Linked DNA regions of Homo sapiens: regions 2, 3 and 4 are each linked to region 1. The links are contacts of gene promoters, found by promoter capture Hi-C in blood cells and fetal thymus (Javierre and others, 2016). All regions are on one chromosome and are shown on one strand. Each heading gives the region's core, a stretch centred on a gene start or on the middle of the fragment in contact. The rest is flanking DNA. Distances are from core to core; before and after follow the strand shown.

Region 1 (3,614 bases), core at 316-2,815:
AACCTTAGTATCTGGCAACATTTTTCCTCCCATGGTACTAGATTACTAGATTTTTATGTTAAATTTAATTTTCTTGAATTCAAATGTATGAGCTTGATTTCTAAAAAACAAACAAACAAACCAAAAAACCAAAACCCTCATATGGAGAAACATGAAGTTAGCATATAAACAAGAAAAGAAGAAACTTTGATCTATAAATGAAGAAAAATGGGTTTTGATAAGCTCTCTTTGACAGGTCACCCTCCTTGGGCTTCAGAGTTATAAAAAAATCGATACGTGAGATTAGAGATGTGACAGTATTTCTAAATTTCTGTTTCCAACCGTTTCATGACTTTTCATTTCCTCTAGAAAAGACATAGGATATTAATATAATAAGATTTGCAATTTGTTAAATATCAAATGAGTCAACAAATATGAAGCTTCAAGGAAAAGGTGACAACAGGTGGTACCAGACATCTGAGCTGCAGAACAAAGATGGTTGTAAAGTGCACAGAACTGTTACAAAGCCTTAAGAGCTACTATAATCCATGATTATTAAATAACACCACATACTATTTCAATTAGCATTTGCCAAGCTTGCTTTCCTTGTCATTGGATTAAAAATTATACCCGGATTTTCAAGTGTATTCTATTTGTGACAATATGCATTGATAATTTCTCTCCTCACACTGCTGCACTCTCACCTCCGTTCCCAGATTAGCTCCTGGAACTCGAGATATTTTTGTGGCTAGAGATTGCTTTCTTAATGTTAGATTTTCCTTACAATTCCATATATAGTCAAGCATTCCATGCATGGTAGTTAATTGTTTGCTTAATTTGGCAACTGGGATATTAGAATTATGTATCATTAGGCAGTGATATTTTTGTAAGGTTGTTTGCTAGATAGATCCTATTTCATTTATATTAAGTCTTGGGAAGATAAACTTTATTTTTCCAGAGCCTAGCAGTGACTGACACATATTCGAATGAATGAAGGTAGATAGAAAATGTCTATATTCATTTACGTAATGATTAGTTAAGGAGAAAAGTACTTCCCAGCATAAAGATTTCTGGCAACCCTTTGCTTATTTGACTTTTCCCTTCAGGCAAGTTCAAGGCTTGTGAAATTCCTAGAAAGGCGAGGGGAGAGAACGCGTGACACAGAAAGGGGCCGGAGTTCGGGACCCTACGCAGTTTTGGGACGTTATGGGCATGGAGGGAAATGTTTGCTTTGGAGGCTTTGGGTAAGCTAGGGATCCGACAAGCCCTGGGCGCAGGGAGGAACGCTGCCCTCCGGCCTCCAGTCGCGCTCCCCGAAGCCCAGCGCCAGCGTCGCGCAACCTGCCGCAGGGGCGGCTCCCGGGCCAGGCAGCCAGGCGCGCCCTCGCCCCACCCGGGAACGCCAGGCCCGCGCAGGGAGGGGCGGGGCTCCATGGCGGCCCCGCCCCGCCGCCCGGAGGGTCACAATGTAGGGTTAGGGCGGCCGGCGGGCGGGGCTCTGCGGGGGAGGAGCCGCCGGGCGGGGGCGGGGATGGCGCGTGGGGGAGGGGAGGGAGGAGGACTCGCGGAGGGAGGAGGACAACGCCATTCCGGGCGGCCGCTCCCTCCGTCCCCTCTCTCCCTTCCCCAAAGCAGCCCGCGGACCGGCAGCAAAGGAACGTGCGAACGCGTGACGCCGCCCGACTGGCTCGCGCTCTCCCGTGCCCCGGCGTCCTCCGCCCGCTCATGGCCCGGGCCGCCGCGGACGAGCGGCGCTGAGGCGGGCCGCGTGGAGACGTGAGGCGGCCGCCGTGGCCCTCACAGTCGGCGTTTCGCCGCCTGCCCGCGGTGCCCGCGCACGCCGGCCGCCATCGCCTTCGCGCCTGGCTGGCGGGGGCGCTGTCCTCCCAGGCCGTCCGCGCCGCTCCCTGGAGCTCGGCGGAGCGCGGCAGCCAGGGCCGGCGGAGGCGCGAGGAGCCGGGCGCCACCGCCGCCGCCGCCGCCGCCGCCGCGGGGGCCATGACCGTGGAGCAGAACGTGCTGCAGCAGAGCGCGGCGCAGAAGGTGAGGCGAGTCCGCCAGCCGGCGGGCCCCACTTCTCCTTCCGACGGGCTGTCCTCTCCCGCTGCGGCCGGGCGCCCCGGCCTCGCCGCCGCCGCCTTCCCGGGCTTCCTCCCCGGTCACCCCCGGCCCCTGCCCATCGCCTCGGGGGCGTCGCGCCCAGAGCCCAGCTGCGTGTGGGAAGCAGAGTGTAGTTTGCGGGCTTCAATCCACTTCCTTCTGCCGATTGTTTTCCCGTAGCAGACGGTGCCAGGTATTGAGAGCGACCCTCACATTCCTACAGTGCTCTGTGTGGCATCTTAATGAAACTTTATTCTCTCCCCTTAAATGAGAAAGAATAGCTAGTTGTCATCCTTTCTGAACCGATTTTGTCTTTCAAAGGTAGTAGTGTACCAGGCCTGCTATTTTGCAAAACGGTCTCCACCAAAATCGAATTACCTGCCTCGCGGGGCAGGCGTGTTGACCAGGTGGACTCTAGAAGTAGGTGGTTTGCTTGGTTTCTTTTCCTTTTAAGGTTTCCCTTTCTTCTTCTTCTTTTCTGTTTTTTTTTTTTTTTTTTTTTTTTTCAATATAGAAACTGTCCCTAAGAGAGGAAACCTTTCTGGCCATGTTATTCCAGGAATCTTTTGTCCCCTAAGTTTGACCTTGTTCTTTCGTTCACCCTTTACTCTTGCATCAGTCACACATTCAAATGGTCACTCACTAAAGAAAACAATTAAAAAACTGTTTGTGAAACTTTATATCTTTAAAGTGAATAGAGATCATTCTGCTATTTTAGATTTTGCTTTCAGAATCTTAAGTGCACTATCATGGCTTGCACCATGTTCTGAAGAGTAGTTGGCCATGATTTAACTTCTTTTTTTAATTTTTAATTTGCGTGAAAAGCATTTTGGGCAAAAGAGTAAACCGTGCCTTAGTTGTGTTGGTATTACGGGGACAGTTAGGGTTTACTGTGATCAACCACCAGAGTTATGTTTGGTTTATCTGGGTGAGTAATGAATGCCCCACCCTGTTGTAGATTTGGTGTAGATTGCAATATTCTACCTGTGCTTGACTTTAGAATAAGACCTGTTCTAAAATGGGCTGTCTACATACAGCCTGCTAAATTTTTGCTTTGAGATTATTTTTAGAATTTTATGATACTGCTTTAAAGTAATCGAAGATACTCAAGTTTGGAAAGCAAGGATAGTGCATTGTTATTTTAGGCACGTTGGGAAAGTTGTTTTTGAGACTTGTATGTTAGTTGATATTATTGGTAAAGTTAGAAGGATATTGCACACTGCACTTTATTTACAGTGAAATAATTCAAGATTTAATAATGAGAATTTAAAAGAGTTTCCTTCCTAATCCTCCCTATTCTATTTTGAATACCTTCAAGTTCAATTTTTAAAGACTTAAGGCTTAGGAAAGAGCACATGGTCATGTGAACGCTAAGCAATATTTAATATGTATGGTACCATTTGTTTATAATTGTCTTCAGTGTTGAATATTAAAGTCTGTTTCAAAGTGAGAAATACCAATTTTTCACTTCCTAAGTTTGAACAATGGGAAGAACTTTGTAAGTTTAGGATTTTTTTATTTTCATTTGATTTTGA
Region 2 (3,614 bases), core at 533-3,032, 980 kb before region 1:
TATCTTGTTCATCACTGAAATCTTTGACTCTGGCTAACAATTTGCTTCACAAGAATTTGTAGATGAAAGGAGAAAAAAGGAAAAAAAAGGAGAGGAGAGAACAGGAAAGGAGAGAAGAGGAGAAGAAAGGAAAGGAATGAAAGGGGAAGGAAAAAAGAGGAAGAAAGGGAGGGAGAAAACAAATAAATAAAATACTTAGGCAATAAAATGAGAAAAAATATGAGAAACTATACTGGGAAAAAACTATCAAGGCATTGTTTTAATATCACTTCATGCTTGAATATATTTAAATACCACAAACTTGTTATGATTTAAAGGAACTCAAAAGACTATTGTTTTCGTTCTCTTGATATTTCAGTGAAGCCTGCAAAATGTATATGTGGGGAAGTGCGAGTAGATGTGTGATTTAATTTTTGTGCTTTATTTGGGTGAAACTGGAGTATGAAGAAACATAAGAGACACCCTCAGAGCACAATCAAGATGTCAGCATTCACAAACCCATGTGCTCCCCCTCTAAATTATACTCCTCCAGATGGCTTGGTTAATTTTGAAGTGGATAAAGCTAACAGTGCCAGATCACACCCAAGCAGTATAAAACTGTATAAGAACACAATAAAACAGTAATAAACAATAGACTATTTTAGTGGCATATGGCAGATACTGAGTCAGGCCAGCCTCAAATGTAATCTTTGGATTCTGTTTAAAAATCAGTGTCTGAATTATAGCATTAGCATTCAAAGCACTCCTGTAAGCAGTAAGCAACTATTCTAAAGAAGAGAAAGGAAGGGTCAGATAAAGGAGAAAAGGAAAACACAATGGTCACTGGAGAAGAAAGATAAACAAGAAATAATAAGCAGTGCTTGCATGACAATCTACAAGGGGAAATATAGAATTCATGAAAGCATTCAACAGGAAGAGATGGCAACAAGTAGACCAATATGAAGGAAATGGGTATGGGAACTCCCAGCAAGAAGGGGAGCAAAGGAGAAAGAGGAAAATACACACAAACAAAATAACAATTCCTCCCTTCTCTGAATATCTGGACATAAAATTTATTGTCTTCCATTAAAATGACAAAAATTGTATGTTGCATCATCAAAGTTGGAAATATATTGTTAAAACCTTAACTCTGCAATCCCTAAGTAAAAATTCCCTCTTCTGAACATGTCTTCACCCCTACACTAAACCCAACCATCTTCTCCTGGGAGAGGGATGTTTCAGAACAATGAGAGATCTGTTCAAATTGCTGAAATTAAAGCTTCCAAGTGAAGAGCCCAAGATATAGCCCCCTTTTATCTACTTATATCCTATTTATAGTACGCATTTCAATGTAAACAAGACTTCCTCCATACCAAGTAGAGATTGTACACCTAGACACTAAATAAAAAAGTATTTTTTCCAGAAAAATACTTTTCAAGTGAGAATTTTGTTAATGGATAGTTTCTTGATAACATGAGTGATCTGAATAAAGTTAGTTATCCACATAATTAACTATATATGGCTGAATAGGAAGTCCCAGCCTTCATTCCCACACAGAAACATGAATTGCTCACAAATGTACACACTAAACATTTTTATATGAATTCCAGACTTCAATTAAGATGTTGCAGTATTCCAAGTGTGCACAAAGTACAGAATAGTCAAATTGAATTGAGTTAAGAAGAGCAATTTCATTTACCTGCATCAGCCTCTCCCCCAAGTTAGCACAGCTCAGTGCCAAGACAGAATGCCTCTTCACATCTTTTTCCTCTGGGAGAAAAGAATAGAGCATGCCTCCAACATTCCAGCTTTTCAGAGAGCTGCCCAAGAAACAGGTCTCTTACTTCCTTGATTGGTGTGCCCACAGAACTAGCATAATTTGAATGTCTGGGGGTCACTGAGGACAATGGAAAGCAGCAGGTGGCTTGATATGGTTGGCACAGCATGGCACAATTGGGGGAGGAAGTGCACAAGTTAAGACTTCTTCCTTGGCAAGGAGGGAGAAGAGTGGAGCATGTGTTGGCATTCTGGCTCTTCAGAGGGCTGCCCAAGGGACTAGTCTCTGTCTTGCCTCACTTGGAGCACTCATGGAACTAGCATAGTTTCGATGCCTTGGAGCCACTGAGAGCAAAAGTTAAAAAAAAAGGCAGTAGGCAGTTTGCTATAGCTACCATACCTCAGTAAAATCAAGAGAAGATGCACAACTCAAGGCTTCTCCTTCAAGAGGGAAGGAGAAAGGAGCGAGAAATGAGTCTGTCATTCTAGCTTCTTGGAACACCAGCTTCTGAGAAACTGATATCTGTCTCACCTTACTCAGTGTACTGATAGGAAGCTTGCATGCCCTGGATATTTGCCAGCCACTGACAACAAAAGAGAGTGGGAAACTTGCAGCTGTAGAACCAGATAACTTGTGGTGGCACAGACAGACATCAGAAAAGATAATGAGTTCCTGAGGGGAAACAAAAAACACAGTAAGCCTCTCTGAGAAATTGCATGCACAGGCCCAGATACCCCAAAAAGTTTCAGAGGATTCCAGAATCTCTTTATGGGCTACTTAGTGGGAGTCTTATCTAAACAAAGCCAGTCTGAAGACTGGGAGAAGTGACAGATCCTAATACAAAGCCACAAGGTGCATGAAAAAACAAGGAAACATGGCTCAATCAAAGGAATAAACTAAATCTCCAGAAACTGGATCTACAAAGAGGTATGTGGACAACTTGAAAGAGAATTCAAAATAATTGTCATAAAGATGCCCACTGAGCTCAAAGAAATAACAAACGAACAGAATAAAGTATTAAGAAAGATACAGAAAATATAAAAAAGAAGTTTTGGAGCTGAAAAAGAAAATAAACTGCAAAACTCACTAGAGAAGTTTAATGGCAGACTTGATATTCAGAAGAAAACATCAGCAAACTTGAATATGAGTCATGTGAAATTATCTGCTAGAGGCTCAAAATGAAAAAAGAATGACAAAGAATAAAGAAAACCTAAGGGACATACAAGGCACCATCAAATGGACCAATATTTGCATTATTGTTGTTTCAGAAGGGGAAGAGAGAGAGAATGGGGCAGAAACATTACTTAATAAAATAATGGCTGAAAACTTCCCAAATGTAAGGATGGAAATGGACATCTAGATTTGAGAAACTCTGCACGCTCCAACTAAGATGAATTCAAAGAAATACACACCAAGCAACATCATAATCAAATTGTCAAAAGTCAAAGAAAAACAATTTTGAAAGCACCAGGAGAAAAGCAACTTGTTATGAACAAGAGACTAACACCAGATTTCTCAGAAGAAACCTTCCAAGACAGAAGAGAAGTGGGATGATATATCAAAACACTGACAGAAAAAAAACCTGCCAGTCACGAATACTGTATCCAGAAAAACTATCCTTTAGTAATTAAGGAAAAATACTCTCCCAGATAAAGAAAAGCTGAGGGAATTCATCATCAGTAGACCGCCTTACAAGAAGTTCTAAAGGGAGTTTATCAAGTTGAAATGAATGGATGCTAAACAGCAGCATGAAAGCATACATAAATACAAAGCTCACTGGTAAAGGTAAATACATAAAAACATAAAGAATACTATTGCTGTGATCTGAATGTTTGTGTGCATTCAAAGTTGATTTGTT
Region 3 (3,614 bases), core at 750-3,249, 860 kb before region 1:
TAAGGACTACACCCACAGATCCATAACCGTAAAGTCTCAAAGTTACTGACTGTTGGCTTTTAAACTTTTAAACTTTTAAACACAGATACATATCTCTGAGTCTAGTCTTTATATGCAAATATATATGTTTTATATATGTATATTTTTTGAATCATTTTATGTGGTTTATATTTATTCAATTTTTATATGCTTGGTTTAGAAGCATATAAAATGTTCACTTTTCAGAAAACATTAGGAATTGGTTATATTTTAGAAAGAAACGTAGAATATCACATTTCAATTTGGACTAGCACTTTTCAAGCGGCTGCTAACCACATGTGGATAGTGGCTATCCTATCAGCATAGAGCTACACGAAGGGCATATGACTGCTTATTTTACTATGCTTGCAATTTCTGTAGCTTTGATTTTTTTTAAATAAAATGTTGGCCAGGCACGGTGGTTATGCCTGTAATCCGAGCACTTTTGGAGGCTGAGGTGAGCTGATTACCTGAGATCAGGAGTTCGAGACCAACCTGGCCAACATGGTGAAACCCCGTCTCTACTAAAAATCCAAAAAAATTAGCCAGGCGTGGTGGCAAGTGCCTGTAATCCCAGCTACTCGGGAGGCTGAGGCAGGAGAATCACTTGAATCCGGGAGGCAGAGGTTGCAGTGAGCTGAGATCACGCCATTGCACTCCAGCCTGGGTGACAAAACCCAGACTCCTTCTCAAAAAAAAAAAGTTGGGGGAGGAAAGGCCTTTGAAAACACTTGCAATCACATTCATTCTGCTTCAGACTGTTTACTCTTCTTAATCCCTGCTAACCATGGTTAATTCACTAGCATTTTTGCTTTTCAAGCAGTGACATCCACAAGACCATATTGTGATCTTTCTATTCTTTGCATAGTTTCATGGTTCTTAGAGGAAAAAAAAAGATGTCACACATAACAAACAAACTAACCAGTAGTGACACTAAAATGAGAAAAGGGTTTTGGCATGGCTCAAAAAAGCCATGTGTATAATTTTTAAATCAGTGCTGCAATTTGTGGCCCAGCAAGTGAGACGGCATTTTGCTTCCTCCTCAAGAACCCTTTGTTCTTGTCATGAACCAGAATTTAAGCTTCTGCACTCTGTTTCTGGGAGGCAGAGTCCTCTTTGACCTGATCTGTCTCCTTTGACAAGGAGACAGATTTTAGCTTGTCCAAAAAAAGATAACCCCTGCTGCTCCTTGTTTGGAAAAAACACATTCTCCTTCCTGGGAGAGGCTGAAAGAAGAATTGACTACAAAAGAGAATGTAACAAGTCTTCATTTTCAACTCATTTCCCTTTAATTTTTATGCCAAGTACAGCCGTGCCTTGAGTGATGTGGCAACAGGCTGAATTTCCCCTTCTTTCTCAGATTGTCTCTTATTTTGACAACGGCCTCCTTTCGTTAATAAGAAGTCAATGACATGTTCCTCTGTTTTCTTAACAAAAATCTGCACTGCTTGTGGATAGGATGGTCACATAATTTCGCAGTCCACAATGCTGGGGACTAGGGGATAGGAAAAAACGTAGAGAAGCATGTTTTACCGGGAAGAAAATAGTAGCAATGCAGCTACCCTAACTTGAATGGAACAAAGCTAATACTTGTACTTCTTGTTCCTTTCAAATGCCTTTCTTGAATACCTAAGTTCTCATAGTCCTGGAGAATCTTGAGAAACAATAAAACTTTGTGATTGTTTTAGAACTTCAAAACTTCTGCACAGGATTGACTTGAAATATCAGAGAGGTTCTTGTGGAAGAGGATGTGAGGGTATCTTTTTAAGCCAGCTGTCACTACATAGCCAGACTTTTAAGATAAAATGCTAAGGAAAAAAAAAACTTATTTTAGCTCCTCAAAAGAAGGAAGGAAAAGAAAGGAAGAAATGAAGGAAGGGAGGGAGGGACAGAGAGGGAGGGAGGGTAGGGGTGAAAAAAAACACTTTGCTGCAGTTCACAAAAATTTGATTAAGTGTAATGAAAACTTTAATTTGTTGATAAAAGCACTCAGTTATTAAGTCCTTTTAACTTTACTCATATTTCCCACCATAAATATGTAACATGTATGTATATGTATTTATTTCCAAACTTGAAGTTTAAAGGCAATCTCTATACCCTCTCCATATGCATTCTTTAAAATCAAATATAACAAAATATTTATTCAGATGTTTTCTCTTCTTCAATCTTCAGTGAAGGAAAATATAATTTTCTTTCTTCAGCAGAGATTGCACAGTGGCTTTAATCAAATCAATCCATTTCACCACTAGATATAGAATATTTTCCCTAAGGGCCACAAAAAGTCGAAGTTGATTTGTCTTTGTCAAAGCAGATAAGTTGTTAAATGAAAGAAACAGTACCAGAATCCTTCCAACTAACTGAACTAGGAGAGAGGAATAAAGGAGATGAACTCTACGTGCAAACATACATATAATTTCTTTTTTCCTCATCTGTCTCTTGCTCTGTTTCCCCCAGTTCCATCTGCAATAGCAGCCATACAGCACCTAGACTGTTGAGAGATACTGAAACTTGAAAGAAAAGGGAATGTACAATGTGCAAATGCAATATCATTATTCAATAACTTTGCAAGTAATTTTATTACCTGAGACACCATGGTTTCTTTGTCTCCTTTTTCTGTGTCCCATTCTCTGCCTCTAGCTGTGGGTCTGTCTCTCTCCTACACATACATACTCACCTAGAGGGGCATACATATTAATAATGTGTGGGAATTTCTTACTTAAAGCTACTTCCTCTTCAAACCAAGAATAGCAGAATACCTGGATCCAATAAACAAATGATCTTGTCTCGACATCTAAAATAAATTATCTGGCAGAACACTGTAAATGAATACTTAATAGCAAAACTTAATAATAAGGGAACACACAAAGAAGTGCAAGAGTAGGAAGCTTTCTTGTATCACTTCCTCATGCCAAAAACAGAACTGGAAATTGTCACTCAAAAAAAAAACTTTTAAAATATAGTAGTTCAAGTTTCAAACGTGGTCCCAACAAATCAGATATACAACTGTAATCTCAGTTCTTTATTCTATACACCAACTTTAGATATCTTCCCATAAGTCTTAAAGTGATTTTTGAATACAAATATTTTTCTCCCTTCAGGCTAAGCCCTATGGGCGAGTGCAGAACTCGTACAACTGGTTCTACTACCAAACTATAAAATGTTCATTCCCTATTTTTCACATAAGAAGAAAGCAACTTTCTCCTTTTTTCTCATTCTCATTTTAGCCTGAACACCTGGCTTTTTCTGAAGCTATGCCAGGTTCAGATCAGATACTATGAGGGCAGCAATGACTACGGGTTACTGCACACACTATCTCCATGGTTTCTACTGTGAAATCCCTTTAAACTTTCTATCTGGACTATTTTCATGTGCTGTGTATGCGTGAGCACCTCTGGAGGTTATTAAGTAGTTGTTTCATCAATAAATGTTGGTGATGCTTATCTCTATATTTCTCTGGATTCTAGCATGCAAGACTTTTGAGATGACCTACTGAGATAAAGATCTAAGTGACAAGCATTAAAGAGAAAAGACACAATTTGATTGGAAAAGGCTTAAGAAAATACGGAGGTTACTTTCTGCAATACGTGTAGAGGGTA
Region 4 (3,614 bases), core at 522-3,021, 720 kb before region 1:
TAACTAGACTTCTAAATCACAAATGGATAAAAGTGAGGAAGAGAGAAGGTGAGGCAATAAAGAAGCACTTTACTCACCCACCTCCAACACATTATAAATAAATCACAGTTGCCAGAGGGAAAAGTGTGTAACTCCTAGTTCCTAAGTCCAGCCATGTGATAATGTTTCTAGGAGATAGATGTCATGGGGAGAAAACTTCTCCATGAAAAGTTTATCTGAGAATTTGATTTATAAATTATATTTCATCATTTAAAAACTGGGCATTTATAAATTCTCTTAAGTTTAGAATGCAACCCTCTAAAGTCAGACATAAGGAATTCAAAGCAATGACAAATAGATAGGAATGAAGGAGTTAATGCCTTTAGAATTCAGCTTCCATCATACATGGGTGACTATCTCTTTAAATAATTTAAATCCTCTCCATCAACTACAAAGCTGTTTTGAAGCCATTTAGCTTTGTTCTTTACATGTGTTCTAATTAAGAGATGACCTTGTCATCACACACACCAGAAATCCGGGATTATTTCCTACAGCAAAAATTCACAGAGCCCCCCAAAGAAGAAAAAGGGGGGTAAAAAAGTCTTCTTCCTCAGTTCCTCACTAAAGGAAGTTGTTGGTTGGTTGAACGCTGAGGCAGTTTCACCGCATAATTTTTTTGTTGTTGTTGAATGTCACAGGGCGGGTTAGTGTGACCTTGAGCTGCATCAGCAGCACAGCAAGGGTCGAGATGCCTGCAGGCGCCCTTGTACTGGATTTGCAAGACAAAAACCTTCAAACTGGCTGAAGGACATCTTAAATCTCTTCAAAGGTTTTCCGAACTAATCTGGGCTGCTCTTAGCAGGATCTGTGCCAGTGTGAGAAGCAAAATTAAAAACAAGGTCTTTGACAGGATGTTGTCTCCTCTTAACCCTTCCCAAGCAGAATAGAACAAACCACCAGCATTCTGGAGAGAGGGTTTACCTAGAAGCATTCTTTTATAACAAATTATGTAAGCAGACAATCACAAAGAATGGGGCAGTTATTAGTTCTCAAAAGTAAACAACCCTTCCATTGTGCTTATTAAAGAATTCAGGTCGAATTCTTTCTTGACTATATTTCAGTGTAGTGAATGTAAAACTTAAAGCTCTATTTGTATCTTTCAGATTTGTAGCACAGTCACAGGTTAAGACTAAAAAATATTTCCATCAATATTTATCTCTAGAATTTTCATTTTTAAAAAAAAATACATGGTTTTAGTTGGTTAAGTCACAAACTTCACGCATACTGCATATAGCTTACTAAAATTACAGGTAAGGAAAATTACATTATAGCATGTTTACTAAATTTCTTATTCCCAACATGATGAATACATTCTTAAGACGGAAAAAAAAAATCATTAGAATAGTGAGTAACACAAGTAAAACAAGGTAAAGCAATCTCGGTCTTGTTATAAAAACATCAGCATGACATTTGATGTTTTAGCATTACCAGTGCATGGGCCAAAAGAGAAAGTATTAATGCCAGTAGAGGGTGTTTGATTCTTCCCTGGCAATGCTCTCAAAATTTAATTTAGTAGCTAAAGTAGGCAAATGTTTAAATCATTACTCTAGAACAACAAAAGGAAAAAGGTGAATAAAATAGTCCTGGCTTTCAAGAAATAAATAGTCTGGTGGAACAAACAGCTGTAATGCTTAAATCACAATATATGCTAAAATCAGTGTGTCTCCATCTATAACATGCTGGTTTGTCATCATCAGATATAAGGTATGTCATGATTAGTTCTAAAGAGTATTTAGTGTAAGTATTTAGTGTTAAGTACAGAATTTAATAAGGTCTAAGAGGTTGCAAATTATTCCCTTTTAAAAAAACAGACTAAATAAATTCAAGATAACTTGGGTGATAACCACACTTTCACTCACTTGGATTCAGGTATGTTTTCCTGAACAGGACAGGAAAAGGACAGAGTAATAACACCTAGTGAGTAAATAAGACCCGAGAGTGCACAGTGCCGGTGATTTTCTTCCTTAGTCTCTGTGCCAAAGGAGAGAGAGTATATACTGTGCTAAATGCAATGACTGAAATATGTAAAAAGTGCTCTAGGAACACAGATAGGCTGTAACCAGGTTTTTAGTTCATATGTACACATGCAGGTGGTAGTCAGTGATGGTTAAAAAATGAGTAAGGGCTAGCCAGGCAGAAGAGAATGGCAGCCATTCTAGGGTCCAGAAATAGCACTCAAAGGCAAGGAAGAGCTGAGTGTGACACAGGAAGTGTGGTAGTCCAATGGGAGTGGAGATTAGGCTGGAAATGCAACTGGGACCAAGGACTTTGAATCAAGGCCATGCCAAGAAGCTGGCCTTTATCTGGTGGGTTTCCTTACAAGCAATGGTATTATTAAAAGCATATTAGAAAAACAAAACCAGAAGCTATGGGAGTTGTTGATAGCTTGGAGGGAAGAAGAAACTGTAGATCAGTTAGTGCACTGCCATGGTCAAAATAAGGCAAAGGCAGGAGAGTTGAAGAAAAAGACAGCTCTGGAAACAATGAAGGCTGCTTTGAATATTTAAAAACCAATTTGTTTAACATAAACAGTGCTATAAGATAGGGTGTTATTTCATAGCAACTTTATTGAATCAAAGATAAAAACGATAAAAATAATTACTATATCTCAAGCCTAGGTTTGATAAACACTGTGCTAAAAAAATGATTTCTACAAAGTTTCAAAAAAGTAGTAATTCTTACAGGGGTGCTTTAAAGAGGCAGAATCAGATCCTGTTTGAAGTCTGAATTTTGTACTTTGAACTATCAACCTTCATTAAGTATTAGGTAAGGGTTTTGCTAAGACAGTGACATGTACCTTTTCAGAACAGTGTGAGAGCGTATTTCCCTTGGCTATAAGACAGAGATGTCCGACTTAAATTATAATGTGGTTCTTGGAGCTAAGAGTTCTATCCAACGCTAATGAGAAAAAAAATTAACTCAGCAAACATTTCTTGAGTCCCGACTACGTTTAGGACACAGAATTAAAAAATAAAAACTACCCAACATTCTATCAGCTTCATGTTTTTAGATGATCACTCATAATGATATCAAGTCCTCAAATTCCAGCTTGCATGACATCATCACACAATAAAAACACTACGAGTAAAAACAGTATGAAGCTGTCAGTAAATCAAGTGTCGGAACTAGCAGCCATCTTGGTATTCCGATCCAGCTGAAAGGTACACAACGCATTCCCAGAACCCTCAGGGAAGACCCAGCACCAATGTAATTTGAAGAGCGTCGTCAGATACTCTAGAGACTGACTGTCCCGCTGAGACCTCAGAAAGAATTTAACAGAGTATCAGCCAAGGTAAGAGAGTAGGGAGTAAAACAGAACAGGAGTCACCAGGGCCAAGTAAATATCTGCCAGAGAGCAGACTGTACTCTCAGAAAAGGACCGCCAGCATCAGGGATCAGGTTGAGGCAAGTGGAGGGGAAGGTCACACAAAGGAGAGAAGGAAAGACTTGAGGGGAAGCCTACTCAATCCTGCAAAATAACACATCAACTTCATTTTGTGAAACTTTTTTAAACGACCAAACCTCTAGAGTTGGGCGAATCACCGTAGAAGAAGTATTAGAAGGTACACAAATCA

What was found. The method cuts DNA at HindIII sites, captures the fragments that hold promoters and counts their contacts. A CHiCAGO score of 5 or more calls a contact.
Region 2: a contact is called between a fragment that was not itself captured here and the fragment with the promoter of USP25 in region 1, in 1 of 17 cell types (total B cells). The highest score is 5.4, in total B cells.
Region 3: a contact is called between a fragment that was not itself captured here and the fragment with the promoter of USP25 in region 1, in 1 of 17 cell types (fetal thymus). The highest score is 6.5, in fetal thymus.
Region 4: a contact is called between a fragment that was not itself captured here and the fragment with the promoter of USP25 in region 1, in 1 of 17 cell types (naive CD8 T cells). The highest score is 5.3, in naive CD8 T cells.

Annotation. Positions count from the first base shown.
Region 1 is chr21:15,728,417-15,732,030 of GRCh38, forward strand. It overlaps USP25 (ubiquitin specific peptidase 25), which reads left to right and starts at 1,566. Exons shown (of 26, transcript NM_001283041.3): 1 at 1,566-2,022. The coding sequence starts at 1,978. RefSeq lists a silencer at 1,171-2,130. The HindIII fragment of the contact is 4,884 bases long and covers 574-3,614 here.
Region 2 is chr21:14,751,646-14,755,259 of GRCh38, forward strand. No RefSeq gene overlaps it. Among named protein-coding and RNA genes, the nearest start is that of ASMER1, 170 kb to the right of the region's middle. The HindIII fragment of the contact is 1,053 bases long and covers 1,257-2,309 here.
Region 3 is chr21:14,867,582-14,871,195 of GRCh38, forward strand. All of the region lies in intron 1 of ASMER1 (adipocyte associated metabolic related lncRNA 1), which reads right to left. Among named protein-coding and RNA genes, the nearest start is that of ASMER1, 49 kb to the right of the region's middle. RefSeq lists an enhancer at 3,232-3,281. The HindIII fragment of the contact is 1,804 bases long and covers 1,098-2,901 here.
Region 4 is chr21:15,004,814-15,008,427 of GRCh38, forward strand. All of the region lies in intron 3 of NRIP1 (nuclear receptor interacting protein 1), which reads right to left. Among named protein-coding and RNA genes, the nearest start is that of NRIP1, 58 kb to the right of the region's middle. RefSeq lists enhancers at 206-1,141, 3,036-3,205. The HindIII fragment of the contact is 6,037 bases long and covers 1-3,614 here.